Linked DNA regions of Homo sapiens: region 2 is linked to region 1. Evidence: promoter capture Hi-C in human tissues and cell types (Jung and others, 2019). All regions are on one chromosome and are shown on one strand. The core of a region is centred on a gene start or on the middle of the fragment in contact, and the rest is flanking DNA. Distances in the headings are between cores, read along the strand shown.

Region 1 (3,847 bases), core at 996-3,495:
TCTCCTCTTCCTCGCGGCCTCTGCCCGTCCACTGCCCGGCCCTGACATCACGAACGTGGCAGGCCAGCCTCTTCCATCACGAACAGGCCAGTCGAGAAGACAAGACATTCAGAGGTGGGGTCAGTGTTGGGGCCCGGTCACGCCTCTGCCTTCTCAGGGTGCAAAGTTGTCTTCTTGATGAGCTGAGGACAGAGGTTCTGGTGTCCCCTCAGTGCCCTGGCGGGAGGTACTCATGGCGACCACCCTTGCCTTGGAGCCTCAGCACGTTTTCAGGAAAAAGCCGCGCTCTCCCAGGAATACAACGGGGGCTTCCCAAGCCCAGCTCTCCCTGGCACTCAGATGGACGGCGGCCTTCACTGGAGGTCTGAACCTCAACGGTGTGGCCCTGAGACTCTGGGTGGGAAGGAAGGAGCTGGGGCCAGGGACGTCCTGCTTTGACAAGAATCCATTTATTGTGTTTATCAATACAAATGTGGAGTTTCCATTCCTTTTCCTTTTCTTCTCACTAATGATGTTTGGAGCTCATTGGCCCACGGTCACCTGTACACACCAGCGCCCACACACACCAGCGCCCACACACACCAGCACCCGCACACACCAGCGCCCACACACACCAGCGCCCGCACAAACCAGCGCCCGCACACACCAGCACCTGCACACACGTGGGGAACCATCGCTTTGATCATTAGTGCACCCAGCACAACTCCCCACCGTGTCCCCGGCTCTCCCCACCGAGGGGTCCTGGTGCCTGTTGTCCCCTCTGTGCTGTGTGTGCCGGTGGTGTTCTGCCACCCCCCAACCCTGGCCCCTGCCTGCCCTCTGCCACTGTCCTGCGCCCAGGCATCCTGAGAGGTGCAGCTGCTGCCGCCCTTCCTGATACGCCGGCACTGTGACTCCAGGCAGCGGCTGAGGGCACCCGGCACAGGGACGAGCTGCTCAGGCGCCAGTGGCACAGGGCCATGAGGATCCAGCCTCTGCTCTCTGGGGCTGTTTTTTTTTGTGGTTTTTTTGCCATTTTTAAAACTTTTTGTGCTCTCAGCTAAAGGGATCCCCACATCTTCCATAGTGAACAGCTCTACGTTTGCTGTGGAGAGAAAAGAGACCGCCACTGCTGTCTTGGGCACACATGTGTGGCCTCGAGGGTCTGGGAAGGGTCTGGATCTGAGCGGAGGGAGGGAGGGAGGGAGCCAGTGTCAGTCCAGGGTCCGGGGGAGGTGAGGCCTAAGCCTCCTAAATCTTCTCAACCCACCGGGCCGGGCCTTAGGGCGGCTGGAGTGCGAATTTCCTAAACCCACCGGGCCAGGCCTTAAGGCGGCTGGAGTGCGAATTTCCTAAGATGAACAACGGCCCGTCCGGAGGTCCAGACCCCTTACTAGAGGAAGGTCCCAGAGCATCCCAGACTCCATGGCAGGAAACTGATGGAGCTCACGGCTGAGGACAGAATTCCACAGCCCAGGCCCGTGGGAACTGCCTCTCCTGACCTGCAGCGCCCAAAGGTCTGGGTGGTCCCAGGGCCAGGCAGGATCCTGGGGTCCCTTCCCCACCTAACACTGTGCCAAAGAGCTCGAAGGCGTTGCTCATCTCTGCTGAGCGGCCTCAGGGGTTCCAGGCCCTGCGGGAGATGTCCCCACCCCTCGTGCTGATGCACCCGGCTGCTGTCCACGCAAGCCAGGACCCCCTTCCTGGCCTTCCAGCTGCTGCAGGCAGGAAGGGATTTGCTGGCCCTGGACAAGGAAGGAAGTGTCCTCAGTTTCCAGCCCCTAAAGGGAGCCAGGGTCCCTCCTGGCAGAACCTGTCCAGGAACGGCAGCTGTGCTGCTTCCTGAGGTCGATAACAGATGCCACAGGAGGTGTGTGGGGCAGGGTGCCCACCCAGGCTGCCTTCCTCCCGCCCTCCTCGTCCTGCCCTGCTGCTGCTCCATCTTCCCCAGCAGCCCTGGCTCTGGCATCTGTGCCCATGGGGTTTGCATAGCCCTCTCCACATTATAGAAGAAGGAGCAGGCACCCTGAGGAGATAGGGGTTGTCAGGTGGAGGAGTTGGGTCCTGTCTCCCCCAGCCTGGTTCTCACGGGGCCCACACCGAGGCTGGCTGCTGAGCTACCCTGCATGGGAGTGCTGCATGGCGGGTGCCCAGCCTGAGGTTGTTTATTTGCATTCCTGGCGCCCTCCACACACCCAGCTATTTGCAGCTCTGACCCTTGTCCTGGCTTGGCCATGCTGGATTCCCAGCCCAGGCTTCCCTCTCAATTCCCTTCCCAGTGAGAAGCTCGGCAAGGGCGGGTCCCGGAAAGCACAGCTGTGATCTGGGAGGTGCTGAGCACCCACCTGCGACCCATGGCGGGGGAGGGCCGAGTAACGACAGCATGGCGGTGCCCCCGAGAGGGAGGGGCATAGACCCCGCCCGGACAAACCCTGACACGTTCCCTCCTTCAGGGGCGCGATGTATGGAACCCAGTCCTGAGAGGCCTGCATGCAGTCAGCAGGAGCCGACCCTGGGAATGGACGCGATGGCCTCGGAACACAGGGATGTCCTCGTGCTGCTGCCCAGCCGGGAGCAACTGCGGCTGGCCGTGGGGGTGAGCAGGGCCCTGGGTGGCCGTGGGGGTAAACAGAGCTGTGGGGGTGAGCAGGGCTCCGGGTGGCCGTGGGGGTGAGCAGGGCCCTGGGTGGCCGTGGGGGTGAGCAGGGCCCTGGATGGCCTTGGGAGTAAACAGAGCCATGGGGGTGAGGAGGGCCCTGGGTGGCCATAGGGGTGAGCAGGGCTGTGGGGGTGAGCAGAGCCATGGGGGTGAGCAGGGCCCTGGGTGGCCGTGGGGGTGAGCAAGGCTGTGGGGGTGAGCAGGGCCGTGAGGGTGAGCAGAGCCGTGGGGGTGAGCAGGGCTGTGAGGGTGAGCAGAGCCGTGGGGGTGAGCAGGGCCGTGGGGGTGAGCAGGGGTATGGGGTGAGCAGAGCCTCAGGACACAGCCTGTGTATGGAAAGTCCCTGGACCGCCTCACTCTGCTTAGGCCAGGTGTCTGTGAGGTGTCAAGGGCCAGCCCTTTCACTGGGCCTGTGAAGGAAACATCCCTGATAGACGTTGCTGTGAGAAATAAGTTTATGGTTCAGCACATCCTTCCCGGGAGGGAGCGCTGAGGGAAGAGCGCCAGGAAGCCGGTTTCCAAGGAGCAGCTCCTGTCTTGTGTTCAGACGTCACCATCTCTATGCTTCTCTATTTCCTTTTCTTTTCCCTTTCCCCCATTTTGTCTACCTGTTTTAGTTGAGTTCATGGCGACAGGAGTTGAGATGGTACTTTCATTTTAATGATTAATGTGGATAATGAAAATGTGGCAATTAAAATGAGAGTGGTTTGTTGAAGAACGATGACTTTCTGCATAGCTAATGTATCATTGCTACCTGGAATGGAGTATGACTTGCTAGTAATATCCTGGTTCAAGTCCCCTGGGAATCTGGGAGTCTCTTGTCTGCTTCGGGATAGAGTTCTGTGTTTACGTAAACGCCCACATCTATGTTTGTGGCAAAATCTTCCCCAAGACTCTGTGTCCCCACCCAGCAACGAGAAGCTGGAGTTGAGCTAATGGGGGATGTCCTGTAGTTTCCTGGGGTCCCCAGCAGTGCCTCGGGCTGGGGGAGGGGTCATAAGAGGACCTGTTGTGGGGAAGATGCTGGGGCTTTGGCCCCCTACCCCATAAGAGCTGGAACTTTTAGGTTTCTTGCACGGAACTTCACGGTAAGATTTTAACTGAGGGATCATGCAGCTAGAACATAGTGAACCGCCTGTTCTGAACAGGTGAATCGTGCTCATCTGCTTTTGACGGAGCTCCCTGAAGTGCCTCTGCAACTCCTGTGGC
Region 2 (3,588 bases), core at 841-3,340, 110 kb after region 1:
CTGCTGCCTCCTGGAGTGATGCTCCCTGGGGGCAGAGCCACGCTGTTTCAGGACAGCAGGTAAGCGCTGTGAGACCCGTCACCATCACTGAGGCAGGAGGCACCCGCAGGCTCCCATAAACATCTGCTGAATTAAACAAGAAACTAGCTTCAATTCCCAATCTCAAGTCTAGTATGTCTCTTTTGAGGTTATGTGATTTTTGGAATAAACTGGATGAAATACTGGAAATAACAAAACTATCACTTTTTGTACATCCTTTCCCTCCTCCAAGTCACTCGAATTAAATTTTGCTTAATGTTTACTAAATATAACTAAATCTTTGAAATCAGTTTTCCACTCAATAAAGGATAGAGGAAATTGTGTCCAACGGCGCACACCAGAAAATGATCAAGTGCTTGCTGGTCCGTATGACAGACCACTGTAGGGCAGTACCATTATTTCCACTGACAGCAACAGAAACACAAGGCTTGAGGAGAAAAAGGAATCTGTAATAATACTCAGACTTCCTAAGTTTTTGTATTCCCAAACATTAAAGTCCCCTTTCAAGCATTAAAATATAGTAAAAGTGAATACTATAGTTCTAATACACAAACATCTCGTTCTATCAAAAAGGTCTCCACAAGTTTCTACAACCCTAAGACACACTCCTTCCTTCATGAACGTCCTTATTTTTACAATACATGGACTACAGTCACCCTGCTGTGCAGCACATGGATCTGAAAACCTATTCCTTTTGTCTATCTGAAACTTTGCATCCTTCAACCAACAACTTCCCATCCTTTTCTCCCCCCATGAAAGCTCTAAAAATTCTCCATCCCTGCCCTGTCCCATCCCCCTGCTCACAGGCCATTAAAAGGTCCACTGGAAATAGGCAGAGGCAGGAGATGGCGCAGAGGCAGCGCTGAGCCCTGTCCACACAGAAGGTCCCGCCCGCACATGCCCAGGCCTCCCGCAGCTCCCAGGTCCTCACAATGTGACTTGTGTAGTTTTACAATCAAACACACCCTTTTACACGAGGCCGTCCCGAGTGGGTTCTTGCACTAGGACGCTTCTCACCAGGATGCCTTATGTACACCATTTACTTATTACTACGGATATTTTATTTCAAAGGGGCCACCAAGAGACAGTGTCACTGAGAAATGGCTCGAATGCCCACCTAAGCTTGCTGGGATCAAGGAAGCATCAGGAAGGCCTGGGCAGCAGAACGGCTTATGAGACTCAGACACCACCCGTGAGCTGTGTGACGAGGCACACGACACGTCCCCACAAATGAAAACCACTGCCTGACACAGAAATCATACTCAGTAAGTGTTTAATGAAGAAGAGACAGATGGAAAGAGATGGGCGAGGAAGGCTGATGTTACAAATATAAACTTTGTCAGCACTTTCAAAACAATAGCAAATACACTTAAATACATACAAAGTTTATTAAAAATAGGTTGCAACTGAAATACAGTAGAAATGGAAAACTACAGCAGTTTTGATGTTTTCTCATAGTAATGCAGTTCTGAAAAGCACTTTTACACATATTCACATTTGACCTCACTGCCCAAAGATGGCCAAATCCACTTGTGTATGGGTTTCACAACCACACATACAAATATCCCTGTATGTAGATATTTACATGTATCTGCATGTTCTCCTGTGTATTTTTCTATATATTAACAGAAAAGTAATTCATCTGCATCTCTTTAAAGAAAGTGTGGATTTAGTCACCATAAGGCTGCCAGTGTCCTCAAGATATTTGGGAGGTGCCTGCTTTTCCTAGAACTTCTGCTGCAAGCAAGCAAATCCTTCCTAAACACTCAGAACCATTCACTCTCTTACTCAAACAAGGAAATGGTAAGAGCACACTTTCAAATAAAAACCCTGATAGAGGTAAAAAAAAATATTTACACTCGCATTTTTAATGATTTATCATACAACTTTTATTAAAAGTGATTTCGAAGGCAGTAAAAAGCCCCTATACCTCTCTTTGAAAGTGTGCCTATTTTCCTAACATATGTAAGAGAACATTCTCTTTGAAAATGTGTCTATTTTCCTAACATACGTATGTGTAAGAGAACATTCTCTTTGAAAGTGTGCCTATTTTCCTAACATACGTATGTGTAAGAGAACAATATGGTACAGAAAAATCATTTGGACTCCACCAAGGGCTTTGTCAAATAGAAAATTTGCTTGTAATCACAAAGTAATTTATCATCTTAACACCAGACAATATAAAACACACTGAGGTCCGTCTCCCCAACATCAGCCACATATCCATAGCTGAAGAAATGACAGTGGTAACTAATAATTCAACAAATTAAAATTAAATAACTCTATTATAGTATAAAAATAGCTTGAACTTCCATATGAGTTATTCTTACAATATTTAAGTTACAGATGCCCTGTAACTGAATTCCTTCCTTGACGGCATACAGATGAAAATCGATTTCTTTTTCAAATTTAAAATTTCTGAGTGACAGCTGTGCTTGAGGGGTCCCTACTCATCTCCCATTCTTCTGTCATTCCCAGTCACATGAACATTGCTCCAATAAAGATATCTTCTTTTACAGACGCCTTGGAGCGAAGTATTAGTGAACTTTCCAAGGTAACTGTCATCTTTAAATTTAACAGTGATTTATTAAGTCTAACAATAATCTGGTATTTATAAAAATAAAATCCCCTAAGCTTAAATCCTCAAAATTTTCTTTCAGAATTAAAATTAATCAAATATTTAGAATTGATCAGAAGAGCTCAAATTTGCGAGGAATGAGATGGAACAGTCTCGGACGTGCGTCATCACACAGGAAGCTTTGGCCTAAGCCACTTCACGATGCAGACTAGAAGGATATTGTGGGAACAGACACCATCAGGGGACATGGGAGGAGCATGTCGTCATATGTTCCTTCCCGGGTAGAAGAGCGTGTGGTCACTACTAAACAGTGCCAACAATAGTCTGAATAGTTCAAGCTATTCTCTGCTTGACAGCTAAAATAAAGTTTCTGAAAAAAACAGAAACAGAACTTCTTTGTGCTCCTCGGTCGATGATGAGGGGAAGATGGGAGAGAAGACACATCCATTCTCTTCTCCTGCCCTTAGTTCTGTCCCCTTTGAACTCAGGACTCCAAAAAAGAAACCAACAAAAAACTTACCCTCGTGTGAGTTAGATAATTAAGAAACTAGACAGTGTTTAAATTACATAAATGGCAATCTCATGGTAAAGTAAAATAAAATTTCTTGGAATTGAAACATTTCTAAATCCCAACAATTTTAGAAACAGAAATTGTAAATCACTTAGAAATATAACCCCCTTCCTCTTTTCCTCTTCAAACTCGCACCTACAAACCCACAACTGAAAAGATTTTGGGGTAAATACAAAGTGTTCTCCTCATTTTCTTTCACTTTGTGTTCAGTTCATTCTCCAGTTCTGTTAATTTACGAGAAGCTTTCACTTTATTGGATACATCTTGACCTTGTGAAAAAAGACGCTGGCGTTCCTTGAATGTCAAGTTTTCAGGGGCCCCAGAACTTCCAGGTGAATCTGCATCTTGGCTGCAGAAGAGGGCAATATCAAAGATTACTGGACAAACTAGAAACAACCTG

The links. Contacts are between HindIII fragments. The study calls those that stand out against the background at their distance.
Region 2: a fragment that was not itself captured here is called in contact with the fragment with the promoter of FRMD1 in region 1 in 3 of the 25 tissues and cell types used here (mesenchymal stem cells, small bowel and thymus).

The regions. Positions count from the first base shown.
Region 1 is chr6:168,077,610-168,081,456 of GRCh38, reverse strand. It overlaps FRMD1 (FERM domain containing 1), which reads left to right and starts at 2,245. Exons shown (of 11, transcript NM_024919.6): 1 at 2,245-2,575. The coding sequence starts at 2,363. RefSeq lists an enhancer at 2,533-3,254. The HindIII fragment of the contact is 22,554 bases long and covers 1-3,847 here.
Region 2 is chr6:167,969,731-167,973,318 of GRCh38, reverse strand. AFDN (afadin, adherens junction formation factor) reads right to left here. Exons shown (of 34, transcript NM_001386888.1): 34 at 1,296-3,537. The coding sequence ends at 3,384. Among named protein-coding and RNA genes, the nearest start is that of HGC6.3, 8.3 kb to the left of the region's middle. The HindIII fragment of the contact is 5,402 bases long and covers 1-3,588 here.